Linked DNA regions of Homo sapiens: region 1 is linked to region 2. Evidence: promoter capture Hi-C in 16 types of primary human blood cells and fetal thymus (Javierre and others, 2016). All regions are on one chromosome and are shown on one strand. The core of a region is centred on a gene start or on the middle of the fragment in contact, and the rest is flanking DNA. Distances in the headings are between cores, read along the strand shown. Region 1 holds the start of LOC124901943 (a long non-coding RNA gene). Region 2 holds the start of SNAI2 (snail family transcriptional repressor 2).

Evidence for each region. Contacts are between HindIII fragments. The CHiCAGO score rates a contact against its expected background, and 5 or more counts as called.
Region 1: a fragment that was not itself captured here is called in contact with the fragment with the promoter of SNAI2 in region 2 in 2 of 17 cell types (M0 macrophages and M1 macrophages); the score reaches 6.8 in M0 macrophages.

What each region holds. Positions count from the first base shown.
Region 1 is chr8:48,593,990-48,598,034 of GRCh38, forward strand. LINC02847 (long intergenic non-protein coding RNA 2847) reads right to left here. Exons shown (of 4, transcript NR_187517.1): 4 at 3,097-3,529. The region is part of intron 2 of LOC101929268 (a long non-coding RNA gene); the gene reads left to right. LOC124901943 (a long non-coding RNA gene) reads right to left here and starts at 1,321. Exons shown (of 3, transcript XR_007060909.1): 1 at 66-1,321. The HindIII fragment of the contact is 2,742 bases long and covers 507-3,248 here.
Region 2 is chr8:48,918,681-48,922,704 of GRCh38, forward strand. SNAI2 (snail family transcriptional repressor 2) reads right to left here and starts at 2,749. Exons shown (of 3, transcript NM_003068.5): 1 at 2,507-2,749; 2 at 1,216-1,761; 3 at 1-308. The coding sequence starts at 2,585. The coding sequence ends at 127. LOC107986942 (a long non-coding RNA gene) reads left to right here and starts at 2,877. Exons shown (of 4, transcript XR_001745895.3): 1 at 2,877-3,521; 2 at 4,010-4,024. RefSeq lists an enhancer at 2,860-2,939. The HindIII fragment of the contact is 2,868 bases long and covers 1,491-4,024 here.

The DNA.
Region 1 (4,045 bases), core at 628-3,127, 330 kb before region 2:
ATAACATCTGCAAACGTAGCACTATATTACAGTATCTCAACCAGTGTATAAATGCATACACTCACCAGTGTCACTGGGGTTCCTCCAGTCTCAGTTCATTTGTGTGCATTTATTTTCCGTAACTGTATCACTGCTGTAGAGTAGGATGGCCACCTTGACAGTCAAGAGGCAGAACAGCTCCACACGAGGGTTCCTGTCTTCCTTGCTCCTGGAACCATTAATCTGCTCTCCGTCTCTATAATTTTATCCTTTGAGACTGTTACATAAACAAAACCACACAGTAACCTCACAAGGCATTTTTGCACTCAGTAAAATGCCCTTGAGACCCATTCACGTTGCTGTGTGTATCAGAGCCCGTTCCTTTCCATAGCTGAGCCGTGTTCCTGGTGTGGACACACCACTGTTTAATCAGTCATCGTCGAAGGACGGCTGCCTTGTCCCCCATTTTCGACCATTACAAATGAAGCTTCCATGAGCATTCATGTACAAGTTTCTTTGTGAACTTAAGCTTTCAAGAAATTAAAAAAGAAATGTTTTCAAATGCTTGAGCAAATAGCCAAGATCCCAGGGCACCGTGGGAAAGTGTGGAAGTGAGGATTTTTTTTTTTTTTTTGAGATGGAGCCTTGCTCTGTGGCCCAAGCTGGAGTGCAGTGGCACAATCTCGGCTCACTGCAACCTCCGCCTCCCGGGTTCACACCATTCTCCTGCCTCAGCCTCCCGAGTAGCTGGGACTACAGGTGCCTGCCACCACACCTGGCTAATTTTTTGTTTTTGTATTTTTAGTAGAGATGGGGATTCACCGCGTTAGCCAGGATGGTCTTGATCTCCTGACCTCGTGATCTGCCTGCCTCGGCCTCCCAAAGTGCTGGGATTACAGGCATGAGCCACCGCGCCTAGCTGGAAATAAAGATTTTAACTTGAAAATTGTATGAATAAAAGTTACTAGTTGGCAACCTCGACCATGAAACTAAACTTCAGCATGGCTCACTTGGAGCCTGTGACTTTGAGAGCGCTGCCTCCTGCTTCTGCCTCCCTGCATGAACTGACTTAGTGAAAGACGCTATGGAATATTACCCGTTTGAATGCTGGAGAATGCCTGACAAAGACCATTTAGCTTTGCCACCGTCAGCGTTCTTTCTAACTGCACCGAGCTGACACTGAGTCTTCAGTGTGCCTCTGCGAATAATACAATTATGCTACCAGCTGAGAAAATAGCTCCCATCTTTCTTTTGGCTTGGGCAGGATGACATGTGTTCATTGCATTTTTTTTTTTGAGGTGGAATCTCGCTCTGTCACCAGACTGGAGTGCAGTAGTGCGACGTTGGCTCACTGCAACCTCTGCCTCCTGGGTTCAAGCTATTCTGCCTCAGCCTCCGAGTAACTGGGACTACAGGGGCACGCCACCACATCCAGCTAATTTTTGTATTTTTAGTAGAGACAGGGTTTCACCATGTTGGCCAGGATGGTCTCGATCTCTTGATCTCATGATCTACCTGCCTTGGCCTCCCAAAGTGCTGGGATTACAGGCATAAGCCACCATGCCCAGCCAATTTCAAAATTTTAAGTGGTTATTTTGAGAATTTAAAACGTGGGGGATGAGGACTTTGGATGCTGCTGTATCTGTAGTGATTCTGAGAGTTGTGTTATTTTGTAGTCATACCTTACACAAGGCCTCCTCTGCTTTCTGAATGTGGCATGCAGGGGAGAGGGTCTGCACTGGTCCTCAACCCGGGTACAGCTGGAGTATGTGGCTGACACCAGCGTGAGTGCTGTCCTTGGAGGAGACTGCATTTCCCAAGTGGTGCTTCAGAAGAAGTTCCTGGAATAATAGTGGAGGACATTTCACTTTGATTTTTTGGGCATGCTGTCTCAAATGTCCTCCATGCCCTCGGGCAAATTGGAAGTCAAGGTTGGTCAAATTTAGGGGTGTCTAAGACAGGCATCTCCACCGGATGCCTTACATTGATAGCAGTGACATCATTGTTTAAATGATCATCTCTGAATAATCAAACATAACATGTTATGTGTGGATTTGTCTGCTATCGCTGAAACTGTTCTGGATTTGGAAGAACTGGACAGAGGTGCCTTGAGTGACGGTCAGTATTCGAGTGTGAGGGCCATATTTTGTCACCTGAATGAAGTAGGGTGCCATTTCCAGAGGAGGCGTGGCGGAAGTGGTGCTTCTTGGCTGGGTGCCGGCTCATCTATTCAGCCTGACACAGTTCCACATGTGCCTTTGACCAGTGCCACCCCTGGCCTGCACTGAAATGCCGTAGTCTCTCTTCTTGGTGTGTTTCTAGACCTTGATGATCTTCCTGCCTGGTTATCCTCTGAATACTGCATAGCCATATATTGTCTTCCCTTGAAGGTCCAGATTCAAACTTTTAGGAATTCATTCACCAAGTATTTACAACATGCCACAGATTTTGTTAGTGTTGGGGAGACAAAAGGTATAGTTCCAAGTGCCTTTAGATGCCTTCAAGACAGACACAAGACACAATCTGCACACGAATTCCTGGTGTGGTGGCCCTGGTTGTGAGGTGTGACGGGAGTGCTGATGAGGGACCCCAAGCCACCTGGGGCCAGAAGGGTCCTTTCCTCTGAGACCTGCTGGGCCACTATCTCTTAGCTGGGTTAGCAGGTCTCCTTGATAAGCATCCACGTGGTCCATGGCACACTGAGAGCTTCTCTCCCTGTCAGGCACCTAGGCATTCCCTGTGTGTCTGTCTCAGGTCTTTCAACTGGCATTGCATTTGATTTCTTTTCAGCCTTTGGTTAGTATTCTCACTACACTAGGAAAACATGTGAGGTGACCTCCACAACAATACACAGGACCATTAAAAATAACATCAGGGGGAAGGACCAGCCAGAGGAAGAGTGGGAGATGATGCCAGCAAAAGTCTGTCTGCAGGTGCATCTGTCTGCAGGTTGCCCTGGGCTCCAGTGACCAGCCTGCTCTGTCTACCTTTGCATGATCTCCTGCAAATTGAGTAGCTTAATTTTTTTTATTTTTATTTTTAAAATGGTATCTCTCTGTCACCCAGGCTGCAGTGCAGTGGTACAATCACAGCTTACTGCAGCGTCGACCTCCCGGGCTTAAGGGATGCTCCCGTCTCAGCCTCCCAAGTAGCTGGGACCACAGGCACATGCCACCACGCTTGGCCAGGTGGCTTACTTTAGTGTTAGTTGGTGTGCTACTAAAGAATTAAAAAAAATTATCATTGAGAGTGTAATATAAGCTGATAAAAGCTTGAAAATACTAGATCTTCATTGTTTCTAGAAAATTTGGAACTCCATGTTGGGAATTCTAGAATGGCTACGGCCGCCAGCCCTCATTAGACCCTGAAATGAAGGAACTCAGTCCTGTGGTTTGTTTTTAACTTCCTTTCTGTTTCTTTGTCCCTGTCTTTCTGAGCCTGGCTTTTGTTGTTGTTGTTGTTGTTGTTAATCTGTATTTAATCCAAGCTCCAATACTTTTCCCTGTGCAAGTCTTCAGGACATTCCTTGCTCTTGAGTCCAAGTATTTGCCTGTGAAAAACAGGGAAAATGATATGTACCTTATGCTGATGTCACTGGGTAAATTAAATGATGGCTAACTATATAAAATGTCTAGTGAGGTGCCTGGAAGAAAACGTGTTCTCAGCAGCTCTTAGGAGTCCAGGTTTCAGTCCTGATCTGCTGACTTCCACTGGAGTCCTGCTGGCACTCTGGGTGGTTAGAGGACAGGAGAGCCATGCAGTGCACGGGGAGGAAGGCGGCAGTGCCAGCTCACATCTGGCAGGGGGCAGTGGCCCTGGTGTTGGGAAGCCCATACCTCCTGGCTGCTGTAGTGTGCTGTGACCCGCTTCACCTGCACCCATCTACAGACCTGCCCTCGGGGTCCCTCAGTAAGAACCAACTGGGATTCAACTTTAGCTGACATGGAAGAGTGATCTCTACACTGTAGATGAGTAAAAGGCAAAAGTCTTGTATTTAATGATATCAAAGCATGGTAAATTATTCAAAAATTTTCACATGGAGCAGTTGTTTTGAATGAGGTCCACT
Region 2 (4,024 bases), core at 1,499-3,998:
ATGTGTGTGTGTCTATACATATTATTTGGTTGGTCAGCACAGGAGAAAATGCCTTTGGACTTTATTTGTCATTTGGCTTCGGAGTGAAGAAATGCATTCTGTTCGAGTAAACATTGATTGCGTCACTCAGTGTGCTACACAGCAGCCAGATTCCTCATGTTTGTGCAGGAGAGACATTCTGGAGAAGGTTTTGGAGCAGTTTTTGCACTGGTATTTCTTTACATCAGAATGGGTCTGCAGATGAGCCCTCAGATTTGACCTGTCTGCAAATGCTCTGTTGCAGTGAGGGCAAGAAAAAGGCTTCTCCCCTGGGGGTGGAGTGGGAGAAAAAAAGAAAGACAGTCAGTGTTTTTAGAGGAAACATAAAGTAAAATCATGTTAACAAAAGTCAATCACATTTTGCTTAAATAATGAGAAGCAGCAAAACCTGATTAAAATCCCTCATAATAGACACTTTTAAAAATACCTGAATTTTTAAGATAAACTTGAATATTGCATTTAAAAATCATACACGAATATTATTACTGCTGCCAATCATACAGAAATAATTTACGTAGTTCTTGGACTTTCACTTCTTAAAGCTTTCTGCTTTAGCAGATGCAGCTAATGTTGAGCACCTCCCAACATTTCCCAATATTTCCCCTTTTCCCTCTTTCTGTACTATGATTAAGGTGGTCTAAGTGCCATGATACCCTGCAGAATAATTCTGTGATACGAATAAGAAATTAAGGAGCAAAAAATCCCCAAACAAAGCAAGAGAGGCAAAGTAAATTTAGTTTCAACTATCCAAGTCACCCACGGGTGACAAATATCAGAGCAAGAATGTAACTAACAGAAAACTGTAGGAAAAGCCTTCATCTATTAACCAAATCAATTGATTAAGATAGCAACATTTGTATTTGCTGATTACTGGGGGCAGTTTCACAGAACACACATTCAAGCACATCTTTCCTGATTTTCTAACTGATCTTTGAGACCAAACCTTCTGAATCTACTTTCCAAAGTCTACATGCTGTTTGCAGTCCCTGGAGCAGAGGTTGTTAGCAAGAAATGGAGCACTTTGTGCCCTAACAACTTTTTGAGTAGTCAGGAAGTAGCTATCAATGACTGTCCATCATTAAAAGCACTATGTCACAACTTCATGCAAATCCAACAGCCAGCCCAGGGCTTCATTGTATCTCAGAGTAACATTCCTGCCTATGGTTTTTCTCTTACCCGTGTGAGTTCTAATGTGTCCTTGAAGCAACCAGGGTCTGGAAAACGCCTTGCCGCAGATCTTGCAAACACAAGGTAATGTGTGGGTCCGAATATGCATCTTCAGGGCGCCCAGGCTCACATATTCCTTGTCACAGTATTTACAGCTGAAAGATTTTCTAGACTGGGCATCGCAGTGCAGCTGCTTATGTTTGGCCAGCCCAGAAAAAGTTGAATAGGTCTTATTGCATAAATTGCACTGAAACTTTTCAGCTTCAATGGCATGGGGGTCTGAAAGCTTGGACTGTAGTCTTTCCTCTTCATCACTAATGGGGCTTTCTGAGCCACTGTGGTCCTTGGAGGAGGTGTCAGATGGAGGAGGGGGACTCACTCGCCCCAAAGATGAGGAGTATCCGGAAAGAGGAGAGAGGCCATTGGGTAGCTGGGCGTGGAATGGAGCAGCGGTAGTCCACACAGTGATGGGGCTGTATGCTCCTGAGCTGAGGATCTCTGGTTGTGGTATGACAGGCATGGAGTAACTCTCATAGAGATACGGGGAAATAATCACTGGGAAAGAAAAGGGAGGGAGAGAAGATTAAGGCAAAAATAATTAAAAATAAATCCACACGCAAGTATACACACACTGGAAAGATATTTAGCAACACACACGTGATTTTCTTAGGAAGAAGATAGACCCATTTAGGAGGGCATACACACTGGTAAAATGTTTCATTTCCACCCTGGCACCTACGGAGTTACTGTACTTAATGCACACATAGGCTGACAGCTGCACGGAGCTATAGGTGCTCTGAAGTCAGACAGTGCAGCCAAGCCAGTGCCTTCGCCGTCCCCATTGAGGAAGGAGAGCCTCAACATTATTTTTAAACATACAGAAAAGTTGTTTTCCATGTTACGTATGGGCTATTTAGGTGTATTACGACCGTGAGTACAAAGATATGCCTGCATCAAGCCGCCTTCTAAAGGAAAGGAGACTTAGTGCATGAAAAACGCAGTAATTCAATCCTTATGTTGCTCATCTTTCACATACTCATTATGCATGTATACACAGGCTTTAGCAAACGAAGCTGCGAGATTTGAATGAAATGTTCCTTGTTAGTCAAGAATTTTAAAAGTTTTGAATTAAAACGAACCCTAAATGATCAAAAGAATGTAAGCTCCCTTTCAGGACACTGTTAAAAAGGAAAACAGTTGAATCTTTGGCTCTTTTGTAATGGTATTTGAAGGGTAATACGTAGATTCATATTTGCAAAGCTCTAGATACGTAGTTCTAGATATATTTTTCTCTTTTTACCTGTATGTGTGTCCAGTTCGCTGTAGTTTGGCTTTTTGGAGGCGTTGAAATGCTTCTTGACCAGGAAGGAGCGCGGCATCTTGCCAGCGGGTCTGGCGGGCGCCCGGCGCGGATAACGGTCCGGCGGGAGGACACGGCGGTCCCTACAGCATCGCGGCGGGCCAGGCTCGGGCAGGGGCCGTGCTCAGGTGCGGCAGACGGACGGGCCGGCGCCTCTGAAGTCACCCGGCTCCTTTACGAACTGAGCCCGTTTTGGCTGGGAGGGTTTTTTTTTCCTCTCTTTTGCAAGAAAGATCCAATCACAGCTGAGAGGTTCAGATTTCAGCTCCTCCCTCTGGGACAGCTGTGAACAGAGGAAGAATCTGTTGTCAGACTAAATTATTCTGGTTCAAAATGGGCTGTTTTTTGAGATTTCAGTGGAGAGGAAAAAAAGTGTTTAAGTATTTTCAAGAGAGGTAACCTCGCTCGGTGAGCCCCGCCCGCGATCCACGCTCTCTGGGAGCTAGGAGGGGCGCAGGAGCCGGGGTCTCTGCCCTGCCCGCCTGGCTTCCAGATGTGGTGCAGCGCCAGCGCGCGGGGACACAGTGTCCGCCAGGAGAAGGAAGGGCCGCCCTGCACCACACCAGGCCAGCCTCTGGTGTTAATGAGAGCCTATATTTGGAAGTGGCATCTGGAGAGGTTTGCCTTGCACAAAGACCAAATAATTACCTCTTGGCTTTTGAAAAAGGAAGGGGGAAGCGGGAAGACAAAGGCGCCTGTGAGCGCGGAGGACGCTCTCCTGGGACTCTGGCCTGGAGCGGGACTGCAGCCTTGCGTGCGGCGAGGGCGCTGCGCTACTCAGGGCTTCCGCGAAGCCAGGGGCAGCGCGGCCGCGTGCAAATTAAGTACTCATGTCACCGTGTTAGCTATGGTGGCTTGAAAGAAATGCTTTGTAGCCCTCTAAAGGCAGGCTGATCGGAAGAACTGGAAGATTGCAAAGATAAAAAGGAACTCTGGCAGAGAAGGGGGGCAAGAGGTAACTGTCATTTGGAACCACCGGACATTCTCTCACACTTTTGACAAGAGATCTTATCTTTTCATGTATTACAGTGCATCTTTTTTTTTATGGGAAAAAGGGTTGTATGGGTCTTTAGAGACAATTATTTTTATTTCTAATATTCCCCTGCTTTTATGTGGTGCTATTTTCATCAGTATAAAGCCATTAAAATCCATCTCAGTATCTACCAGTTTCCTGTATAATGCTAAAAAAGAAATTGAAGGATATTATTATGAATATAGATTGATTAAAGTTTTAAGAACCCAGTCTAGTAACTGCAAAAACACCTTTATTTTGTGTATGGTCTTCAATCTAAAAATACTTTCAGGTGGTTTATTTTAAATATAAAATTTCAAGCATATTTTAAAGCATCTCTGTCCATTGCAGACTTTTATCCCTATCTTTTGCTAAAAGAATAAGGAAAGAACAAATTCACATGAAGATCACCCTACTCTTGTTTCTAACAGGTGCTGGAGGAAAAA